2 separate regions of the Homo sapiens genome follow, and region 1 is linked to region 2. The links are contacts of gene promoters, found by promoter capture Hi-C in blood cells and fetal thymus (Javierre and others, 2016). All regions are on one chromosome and are shown on one strand. The core of a region is centred on a gene start or on the middle of the fragment in contact, and the rest is flanking DNA. Distances in the headings are between cores, read along the strand shown. Region 1 overlaps RXRG (retinoid X receptor gamma). Region 2 holds the start of LRRC52-AS1 (LRRC52 antisense RNA 1).

The links. The method cuts DNA at HindIII sites, captures the fragments that hold promoters and counts their contacts. A CHiCAGO score of 5 or more calls a contact.
Region 1: a contact is called between a fragment that was not itself captured here and the fragment with the promoter of LRRC52-AS1 in region 2, in 3 of 17 cell types (total CD8 T cells, total CD4 T cells and non-activated CD4 T cells). The highest score is 7.6, in total CD8 T cells.

What each region holds. Positions count from the first base shown.
Region 1 is chr1:165,437,358-165,442,205 of GRCh38, reverse strand. All of the region lies in intron 1 of RXRG (retinoid X receptor gamma), which reads left to right. Among named protein-coding and RNA genes, the nearest start is that of RXRG, 5.3 kb to the left of the region's middle. The HindIII fragment of the contact is 1,023 bases long and covers 1,404-2,426 here.
Region 2 is chr1:165,578,965-165,584,235 of GRCh38, reverse strand. LRRC52-AS1 (LRRC52 antisense RNA 1) reads left to right here and starts at 2,081. Exons shown (of 7, transcript NR_026744.2): 1 at 2,081-2,881. It also overlaps the pseudogene RPS2P10. The HindIII fragment of the contact is 5,029 bases long and covers 279-5,271 here.

The sequences.
Region 1 (4,848 bases), core at 666-3,165, 140 kb after region 2:
GCAGGATTAGAGTGGACGTCACCTTTGGCCTCTAACCTCCCCTGCCACAGTGCAGCAAGTTGCACGGCACTTATTAAAATACTTGGTGTATAACCCCCTGCCCTGTTACATATTAGCACATGGAATTACAGAGGGCCCCATGATTTGTATAAGAATCTCCAGGGAAGCAAAGTCACCTTTTGGAAATAACACCTGAGATTTGTGTCTGGGACCATGCTTACCAGATGTCAGAGCATCATCTGATCAGTGAGCAACAGATTGCTCAAACTGGCCAAAGTGTGGTGGCTACGTGGTGGCTCCACAAAGGTGCCCAATCTCCCAGCTTTGGGCCCTACCATGTAATGATGAGAGAAACCTTCTCTTCTCCTTCTCTGCCAAGTCCAGGGTTTGCCAGCTGCTCAGTAATAGGTTTGTTTTTCTGGGATGAGACAGTTGCTGCCTCTTAGAAGATGGCAAAACAAAGCCTGTAATCCCCCCCATCCAATTGTGCAGTAATCCTCAGGGTGAGAAGGAGATCAGGGAGAGAGAGGACTTCTCTCATTTCATTTAACAAACACACTGTAACACTAATGCTCGCTACTATTGTAAGCACTTTACCAGCCTCGGCTCATGTAATCCTCATAACAACCCTAGGAGTAGGTACTGTTACCATTGTTCTCGTACTCCTTTTAGAGACAAAGAAACAGAGGAATTGAGAGGTGAAATAACTTGCTTAAGGTCTTATAGCTAGAAAATGGCACAGCCAGGGATTGAACCCAGGCAGACTAGCTCCCAGAGTTCACACTGCTGAGCTGCCTCTCACAGCTTCTGTGAGTGACACAGTTGCTCTGCAAAGCCAGGGGCAGCAGCACACCCCCAGGGAGCTCCCGGTGCTCCAATACAACCTCAGATATGCAGCCTCAGCACTGACTGGTTGTTGCAGACCCAGTGGACTGGCCATTGAGGAATAAGCCATGGGATAGGTTAAGAGCAACGGTGATCTCTGCAGAATTAATTGGTGGCTTCCCTTGGGTACATACTTATTTGCAAGAGTCCTGTCCAACTGACCCTGACCATTCATGTAGAATAGTTGCTTTCACTTGAAAATAGCCATAGAGAAGGGGTTGAGTTGGACCTGCTTGTATGTGTGCGTGTGCACATGTGTGTATATGCTAGAACATATTTTTCCCCTCCACAGATATGTGGGTGGCTAATTGGAACCTATCATGGGCATAAGTGGTTAAGGTTTATGTGGAAAGGAGTAACTGTTTATGAGATTTAGGAAGGAACATATTTCGTATAAACTATTTTCTAAAACATTTACAATCTCACCAAGAGATAGAGAGCTGAATAGCAACTGGGGGAAGAAATTGTGCAAAGAGAATCTAAATGCCCCACCTCTTCCTTCCCCTCATTATGAAGCTTCTAGGTCTGCAGAGAACTTAGCCACCAGCATTGGATCGCGGGTGTGCCAGGGGCTCCCAGAGGAAGCTGGTGTTTTCTCCTCTTTTTAAAAGTAGAAGACACAGAGGCCCAGGGAATGAAGTTAATTTTCTAGAATGCATGGGCTTTGGTGGCTCTCATGAGATTGACTCAGCCCTGGCTCAGTGATCCTCAGAAAAAAGTGAAAATACAGGTTGAGTATCCCTAATCCAAGCATCTAAAATCTGAAATGCTTCAAAATCCAGAACTTTTTGAATGCCAAAATGATGCTCAAAGGAAATGCTCGTTGGAGCATTTTGGATTTCAGATTTCTGGATTATAGATGCTCAATTGGTAAGTATAATGCAAATATTCCAAAATAAAAAAAAATCCTAAATCCAAAACACTTCTGGTGCTAAGCATTTTGGATAAGAGATACTTAACCTGTATCAACTCGTTTCATAACTAAAACACCACTTTAAGGTCGGTAGTTTTATTACCCCCATTATACAGATGTAAAAACTGGGGGACAGAGAAATTAATAATTTGCCAAAGGGAACTTGGCTAATAAATGATAAAAGTGGCATTTGAATATGAGGAAAAGCAGCAGATCTGGATTTTAATCCCAGCTCTACCATGTACTATACTGTACTACTCTGTAAATTCTTACAGCAGTTACCCAGCACAGACCTTCCTGCCCCTTCCCAATTCAATACTTGGCCTCTCCCAGGATTTTGACCCTGGCCTTTCTCACTAGAACACTCCACATCTTGACTCTATCTCTTCACAATTCAACCCCTAGTTTGGGTTCCCTTCCTCAGGGCTCCCAGCCCAGCCTAATCTTCTTCTCCCTCCTCTTTCCACATAACAGCCACTCAGACACCAGGGATTAGCTAATATGCATTTCTTATATTTGAATTATTATCAGCATATTCAAGGGGACTTTCCTATAAACATTTAGGCTGCACAATCACCCTGAGATGGAATGGGAAGGTATTTTATAACTGTTTTACTGGTGCAAAGCTTTACATTTTAACCGATGTAGAAAACAAGATGTTAGACATTAAATTTCCAGTGAATGGGGAGCAGAGAGAAGCTTTCTTCTGATGGGAAGGAAACCTTCTCTGCTATGGAAGCCCTTTCTGGCTTCCTCAGTGGGGAAAAATCAAGGAATGTGTTGGAGAGTGGAGAGCATGTAGAAGAGGCCCTCCTTCTGCCCCCAGAGGCTCAGGCCTCTCAGCCTCTCAGTGGGAATGTGAGAATGAAAGCATGCATTAGCTGATGGGTTGACGCTGCTGCATGCTTCACGCAACCCCAGTTCGGACCAGCTGGCTAGCCTTTCGAAGCCGCACAGGGCAGTTCCACCTGGATTCATGTAGCCCCCAGAGAAGGGCTGATGAGCTGCTCAGGGTGGGAGCTGGGGTTGCTTCCGGTGCTTGAAGGAAGGGGGAGGGAGAGAGTGGCATCCCTGCCTCTCTCCCTCTCCTCCACCCCCCTCCTCCCCTCGCTCCCACTCCTCCCATCTTCCTCCACCCCCGCCCCCCTCCCCTAAAATCTGTAATGATGGAGGTAGTGAAAAGCAGGGAAAGATTGATAATCAGCCTCATTATTACCAGCATTATATATAATTATAGCAAAACCTCACTCATTTGGATCAATTGAGAGAAAAATCAGTCTAAATTCGTGACAAGTTGGCAGATTACTTTTAAATTACAATTTTATTACTTCTAAGTAACACATGTGAACAGTTTGTGTTTCAAGTACCACAAGCTAATGGTTACTCAGTGGGGATTTTAGAAAACCTGCTTTAAAAGATTCTTTTGTAATTAACACCCCGTTAATATGCCAATGTGCTCCTTCTATGCTTTTTAAATTGCTTGAAAACATATGTATCTTAAATAGGCTTAACATTTCTACCATCTTATTTGCTTAACAAACCTTTTTTATTATTATTTTGTGAATGAACAAATACAAACTAGTTTATACCATGACCAGTTTAGTCACCACTCTGAATTAATTATGTTGTAAATTAATAAGACCATGTTGGTTGTTTTTGTTTAGAAATCAGACTTTTAGAACTTGAAGAACCACCTCATTTTATAGAAGAGAGGTTGAGAGACTTGCCCAAGGCCATATAGGCAAAAACAGCAGGTCTTCTGGCCCCTGGGTCCAAGTTTATTCCGTCTGCTAGATAATGCCTTACATTCCTAAAACTCTTTATGAATATGTGCTATTTATTTCCATACCAATCATTGGGTTATCTGTCAAAAAATATTTGGTGAGTGTCTATTCTGTGCCAAGCCGTGTGCTTAATCCCCATATAATGGGGATAATAAAACTACGGACCTTAAAGTGGTGTTGTAGTTATGAAATGAGTTGATGCAAGTTAAGTATCCCTTATCCAAAATGCTTAACACCAGAAGTGTTTTGGATTTGGGATTTTTTTTTTATTTTGGAATATTTGCCTTATACTTACCAATTGAGCATCTATAATCCAAAAATCTGAAATCCAAAATGCTCCAATTAGCATTTCCTTTGAGCATGATATTGGCATTCAAAAAGTTCTGGATTTTGAAGCATTTCAGATTTTAGAGGCTTGGATTAGGGATACTCAACCTGTATTTTCACTTTTTTTCTGAGGATCGCTGAGCCAGGGCTGAGTCAATCTCAGCACAACAGATAGAGGGGCCCCTCCTGGAGGCCACCGTCTATTTCATTCAAACTTCAAACTGACAGTGTAGTCCGTAAGGCGGAAATTATTCCCATTAGACAGATTAGGAAACTGAGGTTTAGAGTGATAAAGTGGCCCTTTTAAGGCCTGCTGCAAATTATTATAGATCTAGAATTTGAGTCTAGTCTAGCAGAATTTCTGTGAACATTTCTGCATATAATGAATGACATTTTGCTTGCACACCACCTTTCCCAGCCAGCACCAAATTATAGACCTTGCTAGTACAGATGGATATTATGCCATCTCTAACAAATGAGAGGCTCCAGGGGATCCTGCTAACGAGGACCGGCTGGCTGTCCCTTTAAGCCAATTCCGTATACTGGTACATCATGTACCAGTTAGTCCATGGAGGCAGATGTCAATGAGTGTTTGAAGCAGATGCCAATGAGGGTGCCCCCAGTTCTCCTCTCGTTCCTAAAGTCCTTGAACATCAATTATGTGCACACCCAGCTCTTGAATCCATGACCTCTGTCCATTACTGTCTCTGGATTTCTTGTTCAGATAGGCTCTCTCTATCTGAACAGGGCAATCTCTATAGATTGTCTTCTAAAGACGGCAGTCTCTTAAAATACAGCGAACTATATTCCTAGTCCCATGTTACCATTGGGTAATATTCAGAACATTATCTGTTCTCAGGTTCTAAATCCCTGAATTCTTTGAATCCATTCACTTAAACTCAGCCCTAAGAAAAATGTGCAGAAATAATTAATCTCCAA
Region 2 (5,271 bases), core at 832-3,331:
TCACACCTGGTTCCATCACTTACTCAGTTACTTGTGTATGAGGATACTTATAACACTTGGTCATAAGTTGTTTGAGATATAAGTTTCTAGAGTGTCTATAAAACCTCTAATAGGGTATCTGGCACAGAGTCACTCAGTAAATGGTAGCTATTAATTGAGTAGAATTTTGAGAAATTACCATCAATGGCTTGAATGTAAAGCTAAACTCAGGCACGGGGAAGGGCATGGGCAGTGATCCATAAAGGAGACACTTTGGGCTTGGGGCAGCGAGGTAAGCTTGGGTAGCACCCACGGGTAGAAATGGGACTCTTACTCTTTGTGTTAGAATTATGGTAAAAACACACACACCAAGAGACGGTCTGGGGAAGAGCCTGCCAGCCTAACAAGAAGTTAGCACCTTTGGAGGAGAGCTCTGGTTCCATCAGAGAGGCTGTGTTTTTGGAAGGATCCTTTTTGTAGAATTTCAGTACTTAGCTTAGTGTTCATTGCACTGACTTGAATTGCCTCTGAAGTCAGAGGGAGTCTTCTTAATATTCTTCATGGCGGCAAATCTTCCGCTTATGAGGTGGATTCTACAATTCAGAGCCACATCTAATGAATTAGGTAGGGGATAAAGCCAAGTAATTCTGATTCAGATTAAAAGAGAAGACCAAACTAGTGTGATTATTTTTTTTCCCCCTCTGGCTTAAGCTGGCTTTTGAAAACAACAGTATGAGTAAGTTATATAACACTTTAAAAATCAGTGTCATAATTTTATATTTTACAGGTGGAATGTATATATATATTACAGGTGGAATATATATATACACACATATATGTATATTTTACAGTTGGAATATATACACATATATGTATATATACACATATACATATATGTATGTATGTATGTGTATATATGTATGTATGTGTATATATGTATGTATGTGTGTATATGTATACGTATATACATATATGTGTGTATATGTATACGTATATACATATATGTGTGTATATGTATACGTATATACAATGTATGTATATATGTATACATATACATACATATATACATGCATGTATGTATATGTGTATATATACATACATATACACATACATACACATATATGTGTATATGTATACACATACATACACATATATGTGTATATGTATACACATACATACACATATATGTGTATATGTATACACATACATACACATATATGTGTATATGTATACACATACATACACATATATGTGTATATGTATACACATACATACACATATATGTGTATATGTATACACATACATACACATATATGTGTATATGTATACACATACATACACATATATGTGTATATGTATACACATATACATATGTGTATACGTATACACGTATATATGTATACACACATACATACGTATAGATGTATACACACACATACATACGTATAGATGTATACACACATACATACGTATATATGTATACACACACATACGTATATATGTATACACACATACATACGTATATATGTATACACACACATATACGTATATATGTATATAGACACATATACGTATATATGTATATATACACACATATATACGTATATATGTATATATACACACATATATACGTATATATGTATATATACACACATATATACATATATATAATGTATATACACACACATATATACATATATAATATGTATATATACACACACATATATGTATGTATATTTTACAGGCTTAATTAACTTTCTTTTTCTTGTATAAAAACCCTATGTTGTAGCTACAGCTGGAGCCTGGGTCCTCTGCACGGAGACTCTGGTGTGGGTCTTGGCGAGGTGGTCAGTGAATTCTTGATAGGGACACTTGGTGAATACAGCCGTCCTCCAGAGGTCAGGGGTCAGGTAGCTGTAGGTCTTAGAGATGGCATCAAAGGTGGCCTTGGCGAAGTTGCTCAGAGTGGCAGTGCAGCCCCTGGCTGAGGTGTAGCAGTCATCGATACCAGCCATCATGAGCAACTTCTTGGGCACAGGCGCCGAGACGATACCGGTGCCTCTGGGCACGCGGATGAGGCGCACGAGCACGGAGCCGCAGCAGCCCGTCACCTTGCAACGGATGGTGTAGGGCTTGCCGATCTTGTTCCCCTAGTAACCTCTGCGCATGGGGACAATGGAGAGCTAGGCCAGGATGATGGCCCTGTGGATGGCAGTGGCCACCTCCTTGGAGCACTTAACACCCAGACCGACGTGACCGTTGTAGCCCGCAATGGCCACAAACGCCTTGAACCTGGTTCGCTGGCCGGCTCCGGTCTGCTTCTGCACCGGCATAATCTTCAAAACCTAGGCCTCGAGAGAGGCCCCCCAGGAAAAAATCAATGATCTCAGATTCCGTGATGGGCAGGGAGAAGAGACAGATCTCCTCCAGGGAAGTGATCTTCATGTGCTTGACCAGGCAGCCCAGCTTGCTGACGGGCATCCACTCCTTATCCTTGGCCTTGCCTCCGCGAGCTCCGTGGCTTCGGCCCCAGCCTGGTCCACGGCAGTGACCCCGGCCTCGGATGCCACTGCCGAAACCTCCACGGAAGCCACCATGGTTCCCCATCCCAGGGCCCCGGGGCCTCCGGGACTCCCCCCGCAACCCAATGCCGGCTGCGCCGGCGTCATCCGCCATTTGGTGTTTTCTCGGAGAAGAAGCTACATGTGGAATATATTAACGCAACAAATTGTGCGTACTTGCTAGACATTAGGCATGATAGCAAGTGCTAGGGTTACAAAGTATTGCTTTTTGGGGAACCCATGGTTGTTGGGGAGAAACCAGAAGATCAGTCATCACAGTGCGGCAAGATCAGACTTGTGGTTTGTTCAGGTTCTGGGAGCCGTCACTGCAGTGAGAATGGGTGAGTTGGGGCAGGCTGTGGTGTCTGGGAAATTTTAAAATAGAAGTGATACTTGAGCAAGAAGTTGAAGGATGAATATGGATTTATAGAATAAGCAGGGTGTAGAGACATGTGTGCATGTGTGTGTGTATTTCATAAAGAAAGACATGCATGTGCAAAGGCCTGGAGGCTGTTGATGTCAGCAGAATGTTCTGAGGAATGAGTAAGATGAAACAGATGAAACACTTAAAGGCATTTTTTCTCCATTAGTCAAGTCTAGGAGAGGCATTCAATGTCTAATGTCTAACTAGGGTTAGGATTTGAAGAATCTTTCTAAGATGTCTGGTCTTTTTTTTTTTTTCTTTTAGAGATGGGGTTTCACTGTGTTGCCTAAGCAGTGGCTATTCATAGGCACAGTTACAGCACACTGCAGTCTTGAACTCCTGGACTCAAACTATCCTCCTGCCTTGGCCTCCAAAGTAGCTAGGGCTACAGGCACATGTGACTGTGCCTGAGTAAGACGTCCCCTCTCAAAAGTCAGCAAATAAAAGGCAGCTTAGAGAAAGCCATGGTTCCTACCTGATCACCCTCCCAACCATCCTATGAGGATTTTACAGATGAGGACCCTGACGTTCAGTGGGTTTAAGTAATTTCCCTAAAGTCTCTGCTAGGAAGAAGGAGAACTGGGCTTTCCATTGGAGTCTGCCTCACTCCAAAGCCCACGACAAATTGTGAACATAAGTTCCTCTTTATCTGATGACTTGGGACTTTGTCTCACCTTAGGACCAGTCTTCTGTATGTGAGATTATTAGGTAGTTTGGTAGCTGGAGATGTAGCAGCAGATGCAGAGGTCTGAGCACATGGACTGGCCTTAGGCAGTGTCCAGACTAGTGGGCCTCTGACTTCAGAGTGCCTAAGCATCCTCTGAGGGACTGCTCACAGTTCAGATTCCCAAACCCTGCTTCAGAGGGTCTGTCTTGTTATGACGCACCTAGGGTGACTCTGATGCAGATGGTACATGGTTCACACTTAACATCGCTCTTAATGAATTTCTTATATGAATTTGGTTGTCTCTCCCTCCCTCCCTCCCTTTCTTCTCTCCTGCCTTCCATTCTCTCCCTCCTTCCCTTCCTCCTTTCCTCTCTTTCTCCCTTCCTTCTTTTTGCCTTTATTTCTTTCTTGGTGTTTTGCTTATTCTCAGATTGCAGGATTGGGAAAAGCCAAAATAATCAAGGCTTCTGTCAGTTGGTTCCAATGACTTGAGGAAATCACTCAAACTACTATTCATTCTCTCTTTCTGTGTGTGTGTTCCCTGTCTCTCCAACAAGAGTATGCATTCCTTGCAGGCAGAATTCACGTATTTTGTGTGCCTTTCACAGATGCTTCCATGGTCATGCTCCCGGGTACACTGGGTGCCTAGTACCTTTTGACTACTTTTCAACTAGGCATTTTGAAAAATGTAATTCATCCAAGGCAGGCAGGCTTAGCTGCTTGCCTCAACATTCTGTGCTGTCCTGTGGACTTCCTGTGAATGTCCTCCACACAGCCTCTGTCTTTTCTAGCTCTTCTGCCCTTCACACCATCCTGGAGAGTCCTTGATGGGTGGAACATAGACTCAGGCCTAGTGACTCTTTTCCAGTCTCAGCTCTCAGCGTTTTCACAGCCTCTGGTGAAACTTCACCCCTTGGGAACCTGCAGACCTGTGCTTCCCTAGTCATGCTCACCTATTTGATGCTTTTATCATCTTGTGTTTCTAAAAAAGGATATCCCTTTTTGGTTGACTTTTGATTCAGCTCTCCTTGTTGCAGTTGGCTTAATATCTAGGTAGAGCTGTGTGGATGATCTGACCTTGTCCTAGTTAGGCAGTTTTCTCTTCTCTTCTGGGCTTTTAGTGACAAGAACCCAACCTTCTTAGCAGGCTGGAATCTTGCACAACATCACGCAAATGGGAGATTCCTGTCTGTGTTTCTGCCTTTCTGCCTTTCTGCCTTGGCCTATCTACCTGAATTCTGAAGTCAGATTACATGGGTTTGAATTCTGCTTGCTGACTCTGAACTTGGGCAATGTTTTTTTTTTTTTTTTTGTCTCACTCTGTCACCCAGGCTAGAGTGCAGTGGCACGATCTTGGCTCACTGCAACCTCTGACTCCCTGGTTCAAGCGATTCTCCTGCCTCAGCCTCCCAAGTAGCTGGGAATACAGGCACGAGCCACCACGGCAATTTTTTAAAGCGCTCTAATCTCCCATTTTCTCATCTGTAAAATGAGGATCATAAGGTGGTTACAAGGTTTAAAGAAAAGGATGCTCGAAATGAGAGAATACCTGGAGTACAGTAAATGGCTATTGCAATTATTGTTATTGGGTGATTTTTTTTGTTCCTTCACTTTCCCAATTCACATTCTATTGGTCCTAC